Linked DNA regions of Homo sapiens: region 2 is linked to region 1. Evidence: promoter capture Hi-C in 16 types of primary human blood cells and fetal thymus (Javierre and others, 2016). All regions are on one chromosome and are shown on one strand. Each heading gives the region's core, a stretch centred on a gene start or on the middle of the fragment in contact. The rest is flanking DNA. Distances are from core to core; before and after follow the strand shown. Region 1 holds the start of OR14C36 (olfactory receptor family 14 subfamily C member 36). Region 2 has its middle 13 kb from the start of OR6F1.

The links. The method cuts DNA at HindIII sites, captures the fragments that hold promoters and counts their contacts. A CHiCAGO score of 5 or more calls a contact.
Region 2: a fragment that was not itself captured here is called in contact with the fragment with the promoter of OR14C36 in region 1 in 1 of 17 cell types (M2 macrophages); the score reaches 6.9 in M2 macrophages.

Annotation. Positions count from the first base shown.
Region 1 is chr1:248,346,600-248,352,643 of GRCh38, forward strand. OR14C36 (olfactory receptor family 14 subfamily C member 36) reads left to right here and starts at 2,176. Exons shown (of 1, transcript NM_001001918.1): 1 at 2,176-3,114. The coding sequence starts at 2,176. The coding sequence ends at 3,114. The HindIII fragment of the contact is 2,948 bases long and covers 2,159-5,106 here.
Region 2 is chr1:247,700,040-247,706,567 of GRCh38, forward strand. No RefSeq gene overlaps it. Among named protein-coding and RNA genes, the nearest start is that of OR6F1, 13 kb to the right of the region's middle. The HindIII fragment of the contact is 741 bases long and covers 1,199-1,939 here.

The sequences.
Region 1 (6,044 bases), core at 926-3,425:
AGAAGAAAAATCTTTAGAATAATAAAATTTTAGACTAAAAATTAATCAAATTTTAAAAGCATTATTTGTTGTCATAATCTTAGTTCTCTCAGGGTTAGATTATTATGTCAACCAGTGTTTTAAGTTTTATTCTAGCTTCATAATTCAGTCTCTCAAACTAATGTGTGGAGAAGTCAAGTCAGAGTAGCAAAAGTGCAAATTATTATTTGGTTTGGAAATACCAAGTTTAGTATAATTTATTAAATCAACTCAACAGATACACAGTGTGCTTCTCTTTACATAAAGCAAACAGAAAACCTTAGTTTGGAATGAGAGTGACAATATGTGTTATATTTTCATAGCAGTTTGCTGGCTTCCAAGCACTTCCACTTAACTAATCAACTCCCGTTCTTCCCTCAGCCACACACACCCTTTCTCATCCAGCATATTACCTTGTGAGTTTTTGTCAAAGCACTTAAAACTTTCTGGAATATTTTATTCTTTCTCACATGTTTAACAGTTCAGTGTCAGTCTTTTCTAATAAAATTTAAATTTCATGAGATTTAGGCACTTATTCTGTTTCATTTATTCACAAAACTCCTGTGATAGCAGCATTAGGTGTATATATTGATTGAACAATCAGTGAATCAAGGACTACGTCACTGAATGAGCCCATATTGTTTAAATTGATCACAGTAGTACACACCATGATTCTGCTTTTACAGATGGAGGGAATTTTCCTTGGGTGAAGAATGTTGCCAACTTTACATGGCTGGTAAGTGGGAGTGATACAGCCCAAGCCTCCTGTCTCCCTCTTCTACAGTGAAGGTTCTGCTGAACCTTCCATGTGATAATTTGTCCTGCTTAAAAATATTTTGGACACATACTGTATTTACCTAATACAATAATACATGAAACTTATAGATGGTAAAATTCTAATTGGATCATCAACATAAAAGTATAAGGAAAAATTATCATTAGCTCATCATCATGAAAATATGAAGCCATTCTTTTTTCCCCCTTTTTTTAAAAATTAGCCTTTATTTTAAGTGCAGAGGTACATGTGCAGGTTTGTTATATAGGTAAACTTGTGTCACGGGTGTTTGTTGTACAGATTATTTCATCACCCAGGTATTAATCCTAGTAGCCACTAGTTATTTTTCCTGATCCTGTTATTTGAAAACTGACAGAGTCATTCAACTGGGCACAGTCTCCAAGTTATCTGCTGAATGCAACTGGTACAGAATAAGCACACGAGGTGGATGACTGTGGTGAAAGAGTAGCTGTTCAATCTGGACAGGTTTTTGCTTCCTGTGAAAAGGGAATAAAATACTAACTTTCAGGATTATTGAGAGTCTTAAATTGATATGTGAATTTTATCTAGAACATGTCTGGTAGTAGTATGTGCCCTCAAAATATTCCTACATACCAATAACAATATCGATGTTTCTGAAAATAATAACAAGAGACAGTTAAGGAACATTCATGATGTCCTAGACAATTTCCTAAGGATTTTATAAATCTTATCTCATCCTGATGAAGCACTATGACAGAAAGAACATTTTTTAGAGTTCTATAAAGGAATGGAGACTAAGCCTGTAACTAAAATGCCCATTTCACACTATGATGGAGACCAGTATTTTGAAGTAGCTAACTAAAAATCAAAGCTAGGATTTTAATCACTACAAATTATTGTGTATTTCCCCTCTATCTAAAGAACCTCAAGAAACTATCCAGAACATACATTTGTTCATTCAATTCTTAAGCATATAAAGACAATATCTTCATGATGTGGGTGAACAGTTTTGTTCTCTGTATCAGAATCTGTATTGATAAATAATTAGCGATAAGTATATTTGAGTGAAATAACTTATTAAAATATTTATTTAATATCAAATATAAGTAAATAACTTTATCTGACCCATGGAGGACACTAAGTTGCATAAAATTTAATTTTGAACAACTTCTAAACAACAGAAACAACAACAAAGCATCTGCCCAATTTGAATATAAAGAATATTATGTAGGTTCATAGAGGACCACTTGAGTTGCCTTCAAAAATGTAAGGACCAACAATGTAGATTACAACTAGAAAGGGATCAAGACTACGATATTTAAGAACCATCTTTCCATCATTTGATTCTTCGTGAGTGTTCAGGATTTCTGTTTCCCAGGTCCAAGCTTCATCATCCACCGATGCCCAATTCAACCACCGTGATGGAATTTCTCCTCATGAGGTTTTCTGATGTGTGGACACTACAGATTTTACATTCTGCATCCTTCTTTATGTTGTATTTGGTAACTCTAATGGGAAACATCCTCATTGTGACCGTCACCACCTGTGACAGCAGCCTTCACATGCCCATGTACTTCTTCCTCAGGAATCTGTCTATCTTGGATGCCTGCTACATTTCTGTTACAGTCCCTACCTCATGTGTCAATTCCCTACTGGACAGCACCACCATTTCTAAGGCGGGATGTGTAGCTCAGGTCTTCCTCGTGGTTTTTTTTGTATATGTGGAGCTTCTGTTTCTCACCATTATGGCTCATGACCGCTATGTGGCTGTCTGCCAGCCACTTCACTACCCTGTGATCGTGAACTCTCGAATCTGCATCCAGATGACACTGGCCTCCCTACTCAGTGGTCTTGTCTATGCAGGCATGCACACTGGCAGCACATTCCAGCTGCCCTTCTGTCGGTCCAACGTTATTCATCAATTCTTCTGTGACATCCCCTCTCTGCTGAAGCTCTCTTGCTCTGACACCTTCAGCAATGAGGTCATGATTGTTGTCTCTGCTCTGGGGGTAGGTGGCGGCTGTTTCATCTTTATCATCAGGTCTTACATTCACATCTTTTCGACCGTGCTCGGGTTTCCAAGAGGAGCAGACAGAACAAAGGCCTTTTCCACCTGCATCCCTCACATCCTGGTGGTGTCAGTCTTCCTCAGTTCATGCTCTTCTGTGTACCTCAGGCCACCTGCGATACCTGCAGCCACCCAGGATCTGATCCTTTCTGGTTTTTATTCCATAATGCCTCCCCTCTTTAACCCTATTATTTACAGTCTTAGAAATAAGCAAATAAAGGTGGCCATCAAGAAAATCATGAAGAGAATTTTTTATTCAGAAAATGTGTAAGAAACCCGAGAGGCTCACCCTAGGCTGTTTTGTGATATTCATGTTTTCAGGAATAAGTTGTAATAATTGATTGTGGTTATTAGATAAAATTGGTGTAAATTTAATAAATAAGGCTACTAAAATGCATCATGTATCAAAATCGATATTTCCTTTCAAAAGTTTTTGAATAATTTTAATATGCCATTGGGTAAAAAAATCTGGTGTTATGAAGAAGACAATTCTAATAGTACATGTTTTCAAGTTAATGACTCACTAAAAAAAATCATAAAGCCTAAAATATTATCTTTAAAAGTATTTTGTGTTAAAGTTCTGTTCTATATTCATCCACTCTTCAACTTTTGGTAAGTCCAAAATAAAAATGGTGTCAATTAATTTTCAAAAGCCATATTTAGTATTATAGAAGAAATGAAAACATTCAGTTGTGCATTCATTCAAAGTTAAATATGAGAAATGTATGTTTTTGGAGGACCATAAGAATATGAGTGAAATGCATACTGTGAAAAGATGAGTGGATTTGTCAGGTCATAGATGAGGGGATTAGTAACACTTTACATAGCTTCCCTTTTATGTTAAAGAAAAGCTCTAGATACATCATACTTATCAGCCCACGATTTTACTAAAAATGCATTCAAGTGCTTTGGGGATACATTTATTTTATTATCTGTTTTAAGTGGCTCACACCCTATATTCCAATTTATTATCAACTTCTTCTCCATACATCCATTAAGGCCTTTGAGGAGTTAATAGTATTGTCTTGTTTTGTGATGGTGTCATGTATCTGAAAGATTTATTTTGATGGCCAATAGTAACAGCCGTTATCTGGTAGCTTATATTGCAATAATCAGTAATCCCAAATTCTTAGTAGGATAATATAACAAAGGTTTACTTCTAGTTTATAGTATCTTTCAAATTCAGATCGTAAGCAGGGCTCTCTGTACTGTATATCCTTGAAAAATAAAATGCAAGATAAGAAGCCAGTCACACTGAAACATGATTTTAAGCGTTGACCAAAAAAATGCCAGTTGGAAAAGGTGATGGGAGCACCCACCTCAAAGCCTAAGCGACTATTTCATCTTAGAGCTGAACACATCACGTTTATGAGTTCTTTTGTGAATATGGAAATAACCCAAAGTATCCCCCTGCATGCCTTACCTGACTGTTTTGGCATCTGCTGTGGAAAGAGACCCTTGAGCTCACAAGCAAATGAACAATTGATAATATTTAAAAAGCAACCCAAGTCTTCATTTTGACAATAAGAGTTAATAATGAGTAATGTAAAATATATATTTGAAATAAAGATTTGAATATACATTATGACTTCAAGGGTCATCACAATTAAAGGATAAAGCACTCAGGTGAAATGAAATCCTAATGTACATTTGAAAACAAAGGAAGTCATAAAGGAGTTTTAACTTTCAGAAAATGATATTCATTTATTTTGAGTATTGGAAGGTAAATTTCCACAGGCAGGAACTGGTTACCCAAATGAAGAGAACACGGAAAAGTGCACACTGGTTTTGCTGCCTGTCCCAGTCATTTGGCCCAATGCGTTACATGGCCATACCTCCTGCAGAGGCGAGGGTGTTGACAGTTTCCCCACACCTGCAAAAAAAATGGGGGGATCAATGATGCCAGTGAGTGCTGTGAATGATCAATATCGCCCTAAATGAAAATATAAAATGTCAGATTCTGAATGTCTGTTGCTCATGCAATTCTACTATCCTGTATCCTGTATGTATCCTGATACAATGTGCGCATTTGTATCAGCAATTTTAAACCGTAAAATCTTTAGCATATTGCAACAAGAACTGTGCAACGTTCTTCAAATGCATTATCTTAGGCAACACTTTGATAACTTCATGTCATGGATAATAATGCTCCCTCATTGAGCAAATGAGTTTCTGAGTTTAGAAATATAATGCAAGATAGTCAATAGTACTCAGTTTGGAAACAGCCATATTTTGGATTCCTGATGCTGTTTATTGCCATGTAAGCTTCATCTTTTAACTTCTCTTGTTTTTGCTTATTTTTATTGTTGTTTGTGTTTATTGAATATATGTTTCATCCAGAAGTGACAGTCACTCCATTGAGGGTAAAGATTAGGGAGGTTTAGCCTCAACCTTTACACTTTTCTTTGAATACATATAACAAAGTGAAATTTCAGTTTTGAATTTTCTCTAAAACTCTTAAATTTCATTCCAGGCTCATTGATACAACTATAATGTTGGCTCCAACAATAAAATTTCACCACATATGTTCAGTTTCATTTGAAGAACATGGGGATTTAGGAAATCAATGTCTTTCTATGAATTCCACTGTGAGTCCAACATGGTTCTCCAAACTTACACATTATCTCATCAACCTACACAGTGGCACTTTGTTAGAATAATCATCTTTAGCATGTATATGAGAAACAGGAGGCAATAGGAATAAATTTGTTAGAAGTTGAATAAAACCAAAATTTAATTTTACTCCAAATCTCCTTCTTTAGAGAATGCAATTTATTGGTTACATCCTGAAATATATATATATACACACACATCTTATATATGCAAAATATTATGCATAACATTACATATATAACTATATTGCATATGTTTATATACATATTTACATACTCTATATTTACATATGTAATATGTATATGTAGATATATGTAATATTTATGTATTTAAGTACTTACATATATAAATATGTGCAAATACATATTAGGTATTACATATATAGGATGTATATATATTATATCACAGAATGAAACCAATAAATTGCATTCTCTAAAGAAGGAGATTTGGAGTAAATTTAAATTTTGGTTTTATTCAACTTTAACAAATGTATTCCTATTACCTCCTGTTTCCCATATGCATGCTAAAGACGATTGTTCTAACAATGTGCTACCATGTGGGTATGTAAATGTAGATATGTACATATAT
Region 2 (6,528 bases), core at 319-2,818, 650 kb before region 1:
CAAAAATAGACAAATTATCTTAACCTGCTGAAGACCATCTACAAAAAATCTACAGGTAACATCAGACTTAATAAAGACTAAATGCTTTTCCAAATAGTAGGGAACAAGGTAAGAATGTCCATTTTCATCTTTCTTACTCAATAAAAAGGTACTGGAAGTTCTAGCTTCTATAATAAGAGAAGGAAAAATAATAAAAGGTATAGAGATCGGAAAAGAAGAAAGAAAACAATCTCTAGTTGCAGATGACATTTTGTCTATGTAGAAATTCCCAAAGAATCTGCAAAAAAAAGATAAACATCCAATTTTAAAAGGATCATAAGACATGGATAGATATTTCACTAGAGAGGATATACACATGGCAAATAAACACATGAAAATATGTTCAAAATGACTAGCCATTAAATAAATGTAAATTTAAACTGTCACGGGCTATCAGAATGACTATTTTTTTTTTTAAATCAGGATAAAGAAAAACTGGATTGCTTATGCATTGCTAGTGGGAATGTAAAATGGTACGGTGCCTCTGGAAAACAGGTTCATCAGGTTCTTATAAAACTCAACATGCAATTATTATACAATCCGACACTTCTACTCTTGGGTGTTAATCCCACAGGAATGAAGATACATATATATACATATATATTTCATATATGCATATATGTATATACATATATATGCAATATGTCCCATATATCTATATATACAATATGTCCCATATATCTATATATACATATATGTCCCATATAGCTATATATACATATATGCCATATATGTGCATACATATATGTATACACGTGCATACATAAATGTCCCATACATGTATACATGTATACACATACATGCCCCAGATAGGTATATGTGCATACATGTCCCATATATGTATATGTACATATATGTATGCACATATATGCCATATATGTATGCACATATATGCCATAGATGTATATATGTATATATACACATATGTATATATGGGTATATAAACATATATGTCATATGTATATATACACATATATGTCATGTATATATACACATATATGTCATATGTATATATACACATATATGTCATTTGTATATATACACATATATGTCATTTGTATATATACACATATATGTCATTTGTATATATACACATATATGTCATTTGTATATATACACATATATATTACAAACTTGTACATGAAAGCTCGTAGATAGAAGCTTTCTTCATAATTTTCAAAAAGTGAAAGCATCCCAGAAGTCCTTCAATAGGTGAATGGTTAAATGAACTGTGAAACATACATAGCATCGTATGCTACTTGAAATAAAAAGAAGTAAACTATTGATATACATAACAATTTTGATAATCTCAAAGAAACCATGCTGAGTAATAAAAGGTAATACTATAATATTACAAGTTGTATGATCCACTTATAAAACATTGTTGAGATAATAAAATGTTAGGAAAGGAAACAGATTGGTGGTTGCCAGCGATAAAGGATAAGCAGTGGAAAGGAAGTGGTTGCTATAAAAGGGCAACATAAGAGGTCCTTTTGGTGATGGAACTGTTTATTATCTTTGCTACAGTGGTGGATAAACCTTCACATGTGATAAAATTATACAGAAATAAATTCACACACACAAATAAGTGAAAGTAAAACTGGGGAAATTGGAATAAGATTGTGAATTTTATCAATGTCAATTGCTGTTTGTGATATTGTACTAAAGTTTTGCAAAATGTTACCATTGTGAGAAACTAGTAAACTGTACCAAGAACCTCTTAGTATTATTTCTTAAAACTACATGTGAAACTAAAATGACCTTATAATAACAAATTTTAATGGAAAAGTATACTTGCATAAATTGAAATGTAATCTATGTTCTAAGTTAGAAAGTCTCATGAAATGGTCAGTTCTAAAGTTATTTTTATACATTTAATACAAAAGCAATGAAAACTGCAAGCTTTTTGGTCAAGCTAGACACATGATCCTAAATCATGAAAAAGTAAATACGTAATATCAACTAGAAAAATACTGAGCAGAAATAGTTAGGAGGCAGGATTTGCTGTATTAAATTTTAAAATTACTGCTGAGAGTATAATAGAATAATGAGGCATTGGAGCCTGTTTGAAAGGAGAGAAGAAGGAAAGAGACCAGGAAGTGAGGGGAGGGAGATAGAAGACAAACCTAGAAATAGGTCCTACTACATATAGAAATTTAACATATGATAAAATCACTATTGCAAATTACTAGGGCAAAGATAGTTTTTTAAATATATGGAGTTAGAACAACTGTATAGTTATTTGCCAGAATCAAAATTAGATTCATTCCTCATGTTAACCACAGGAAAAAAAATGGTTCAGAGATCTAAATGTAAAACTGGAAATGTGGCAATTACAAATACTAGGAAAAAATGGATTTTTTTTCTGTAATCTCAGAGTAGGGAATGGCCTTCTAACCAAGACTTAAAATCTATGTGCAATAGAAATATAATCTGTTTGACTACATAAAATTAAAGTAAAATACAGGGGAAAACACCATGAGCAGTTAAAAATAATGGAGAAAAAATATGTGTGGCATACATTATAGGTGAAAGGCTAACATCCTTAATATATAAAAAGATTAAACATTGACTAAAGATTTTTAAAATCTATGGAAAATTGCAAAAGATATTAGAGCAATTCATATAGAGATATGAAAATCGTTATTAGATATATTTTTAATGGTGAATTTCACAATAATAAGATAAATGCAAATTAAAACAACCTTAAGATACCACTTCTCATGAAACTGGCAAAAATGCAAAACCTTGACAGGGCATTCTGTTGATGGGAATGTGGAGAAACAGGCATTCTCACATATTATTCATGATAATACAAATGATGCAACCCCATTTTGGAAATTTGGGTTATATCTAACAAAACTAACTAAACATCGACCCAATAATTTGCTGATAACCAGAAAATAGATCTCTGACAGTACAAAAAAGATGTAGAAAATTATTCATCATAGCACTATTTATAATTGCTAAATATTGCAAAATAACTTCAATATTCAGGCATAGAAAATTGATTGAATAAGCTTTTGTACATCTACACAATGGAAGCATTATGCAAATGTAAGAAAAGAATGCGGTAGATCTGTATATAGCGTTTCAAAGAAATATTGCTAAGTGAAAAAAGCTAACTACTAAAAAATATAGAGTACAACCTCTTGTATAGAAAGAAAAGGAAAATAGAGAAAGCATATCTGCTAGCCTACAAATGAAAACACAGAAAATAAAAGTAAAAAACATTTTAGTGTATTAGCTACAATAGGTGAAAAGTGGGAAGAAGTAAAAGGTATAGGGCAGGGAATATCCCTTCTTGCATGTATCTTCTTGTGCATTTTTGACTTGTGAAGCATGTTAATATTCTTCATATTCAAAACATAAAATCTATAACAATGAGAAACATGGAAGTCCTAAAACTGAAAGAAAATGAAAGCAAATAAACTCAAGCATACTTGAAATGAATATCAGATACACACTGAAGGAGGAAAAAGAAGACAGAATAAAATAACAAAACCAGCTTAGTAATAATATAGTCCTTGATCATATGTAATGTTATGGGTGGGGTGAAATGTGGGAGAATTGCTAGCAAATCCTGAACTACTTTTAATAAATGTATTTGTTTATTTATCTAAGTTTTGTTTTAAATTCTGGGGTACATGTTCAGGTTTGTTACGTAGGTAAACTTGTGTCATGGGGGTTTGTTGCACAGATTATTTCATCACCCAGGTATTAAGCCTAGTAGCCATTAGTTATTTTTCTGGATTCTCTTCCTCCTCCCACCCTCCACCCATGATACGCCCCAGTATGTATTGTTCCCCTCTATGTGTCCATGTGTTCTCACCATTTAGCTCCCACTTAAAAGTGAGAACATGTGGAATTTGGTTTCTGTTCCTGGGTTAGTTTGCTAAGGATAATGGTCTCCAGCTCCATCCATGTTTCTGCAGACGACATGATCTCATTCTTTTTTACAGCTGCATAGTATTCCATGGTGTGTATGTACCACATTTTCTTTATCCGGTCTATTTGTGATGGACATTTAGGTTGATTCCATGTCATTGCTATTGTGAATAGTGTTGCAATGAACATACGTGTGCATGTGTCTTTATATATTGTAATGATTTATTTTCTTTTTGGTAGATAGTAATGGAATTGCTGTTTTGAATATAATGACTAAATATAATTTAATTTTACCCTCACCATTGTACAAAAATTATGTGTGCATAGATTTAATTTTTAGATTGATTGTTATATTCCTTCAGTGCTGTATTTGTTGTACAAAGGCAATTTATTATGGTTAAACCTATTTTTTTCAAACTTCTATTTTCCCTGATGGGGCATCTATTGTTTTTCCACTGCCAGTAATTTATTACTGGAAGATAATTCTGAATAATATGTATTTTATCTACAAATGTATCATCGTAAGTTATAGGCTAAAGAAAGAAGAAAGAAAAGTGAATCAGAATTCTAGTAGTCAAGTATATTTGCTTGAAAATTAATTATGCAAATTATGCTTAAGTGGGGTGTGTTTTTAAATCAGTATAGAAAGAAAAGACCTGAGTCAATGAAAGCATTCTGTTCATTTCGATACTCCTTCACTTAACATTAAGTTTTAGATACAATTCCATATCAAAATGATTCATTCACTTGAAAAGCTGAAGACTACATTCTTCTTTTCAGTACTGAGGTGAGTAGCAGAAGTAGAGAGGTGTTGAAGATAACTCTTGTTGAGATAGATAGTAGGTGCTGCTTTTGGAGGTTTTGGAAATTGAGGCCTAACCTATGGAAACAGGAAGGCTATTCATCCTCAGAGGGTAGCAATCTGATTTTTATTAGGAATTTTGATTTTTAGAAATCTCCAAGAATATGTTTAGGAATGCCATGGATCTGAAACTAATCCTCAGAATGAATAAATGAAGGGAACAGATCAGGTACGCAGTGTTTTTTATGAGTACTGTATTAGGGTTCTCTAGAGAGACAGAACTAATAGGATATATATTAACATATATATACATGTATGGAGAGTTTACTAAGTATTAACTTACGTGATCACAAAGTTCCACAATCGGGTGTCTGCAAGCTGAAGAGCACGGAGAACCAGTCCGAGTCCCAAAACTGAAGAACTTGGAGTCCTATGTTGGAGGGCAGGAAGCATCCAGCCCAGGAGAAAGATGTAGGCTGGGAGGCTAGATCTTTCCTTTTCATGTTTTTCTGCCTGCTTTATATTCCCTGGCAGCTGATTAGATTGTGTCCACTACATTAAGGGTGGATCTGCCGTCCCCAGCCCACTGACTCAAATGTTAATCTCTTTTGGCAACACCCTCACAGACACACCCAGGAGCAATACCTTGTATCCTTCAATCCAATCAAATTGTTGCTCAGTATTAACCATCACAAGTCCACCCTTTGTCAACTTGAACCCATACACATCTCCTGAAATCATACCTAATCTTCAAATAAAGACAATAATAAGGTCATAATTATGCCTAACATAATACAACTATCCCTCATACAACTGGAAACACACCAATCCCCAACTCAAATACTATTACATAAAGTTAACAATATTTAAATGCTGATATGAAGTCAATAAATTTTATGTCACATGATAAAGGAAAAAAGAAATAAAATACAGATATTTTCTCAATACAAGTGTATACATGCACAAACATGTTTTTAACAAAAGAAGGAAGACATACTCATGACAATTACAGTCCCCATTTCTGCAGCTGGTCATGTGGTCACAGTTGGTACTGATGACTACCTTCTTCTATTACCCATTCTGTATTCCCTTTGCCCTCAGCAAGCACCTCAACACATCGTGGTTATTTTCCTGATGGAGTGACCCAAACTTTCATTCCTGAAGGGTCTGGGCCATTTGTAGTCCTGCCTGGATTGGGCTGTTGTAGTTTCCCATTGACATTAATCACAGGGCATGGTAATACTAAGAGATGCCCTCATGGATCTCCTGGTTTTCATGCATACTCTTCTTCACCTCCGTTGTGGAGTAGTAGACTGATTTCATCTTGATAGCCTGGGCCAATCACCCCAGCCAACACGGTAACTTCCTTCTTAGCCTGTTGACTTAAAGATAGGAGGAGCCCAAAGTGTCCAAGTGGCAATCTTAACTTCCAGTTTAATAGGATCATTGTTGTGTCTCCTGGTGGCAGCATTCCTCCCTCTGGAACAAAGACCTCTAGACAAGAAGAACGTAATATTGTGGGAACAGGAAGCAAAAATTTTGCTACTGGATCACTAGGAGTGATGGTGGGTGGTGCCACTTCCATTTCCACCCACTGAATCCTGGATCCGTGAATCCTGGCTATGGGAGAAACAGTACCATATATTGGACGCTGATTCAGAGCATACATGGCCTTCTGAAGAACTTTGCCCCAGCCGTGCAAAGTACTGTCACCTAGTTGGCATTGCAATTGTGACTTGAAAAGGCCATTCCCCCATTCTATCAATCCAGCTGCTTCAGGATGATGGGGAACATGGTAA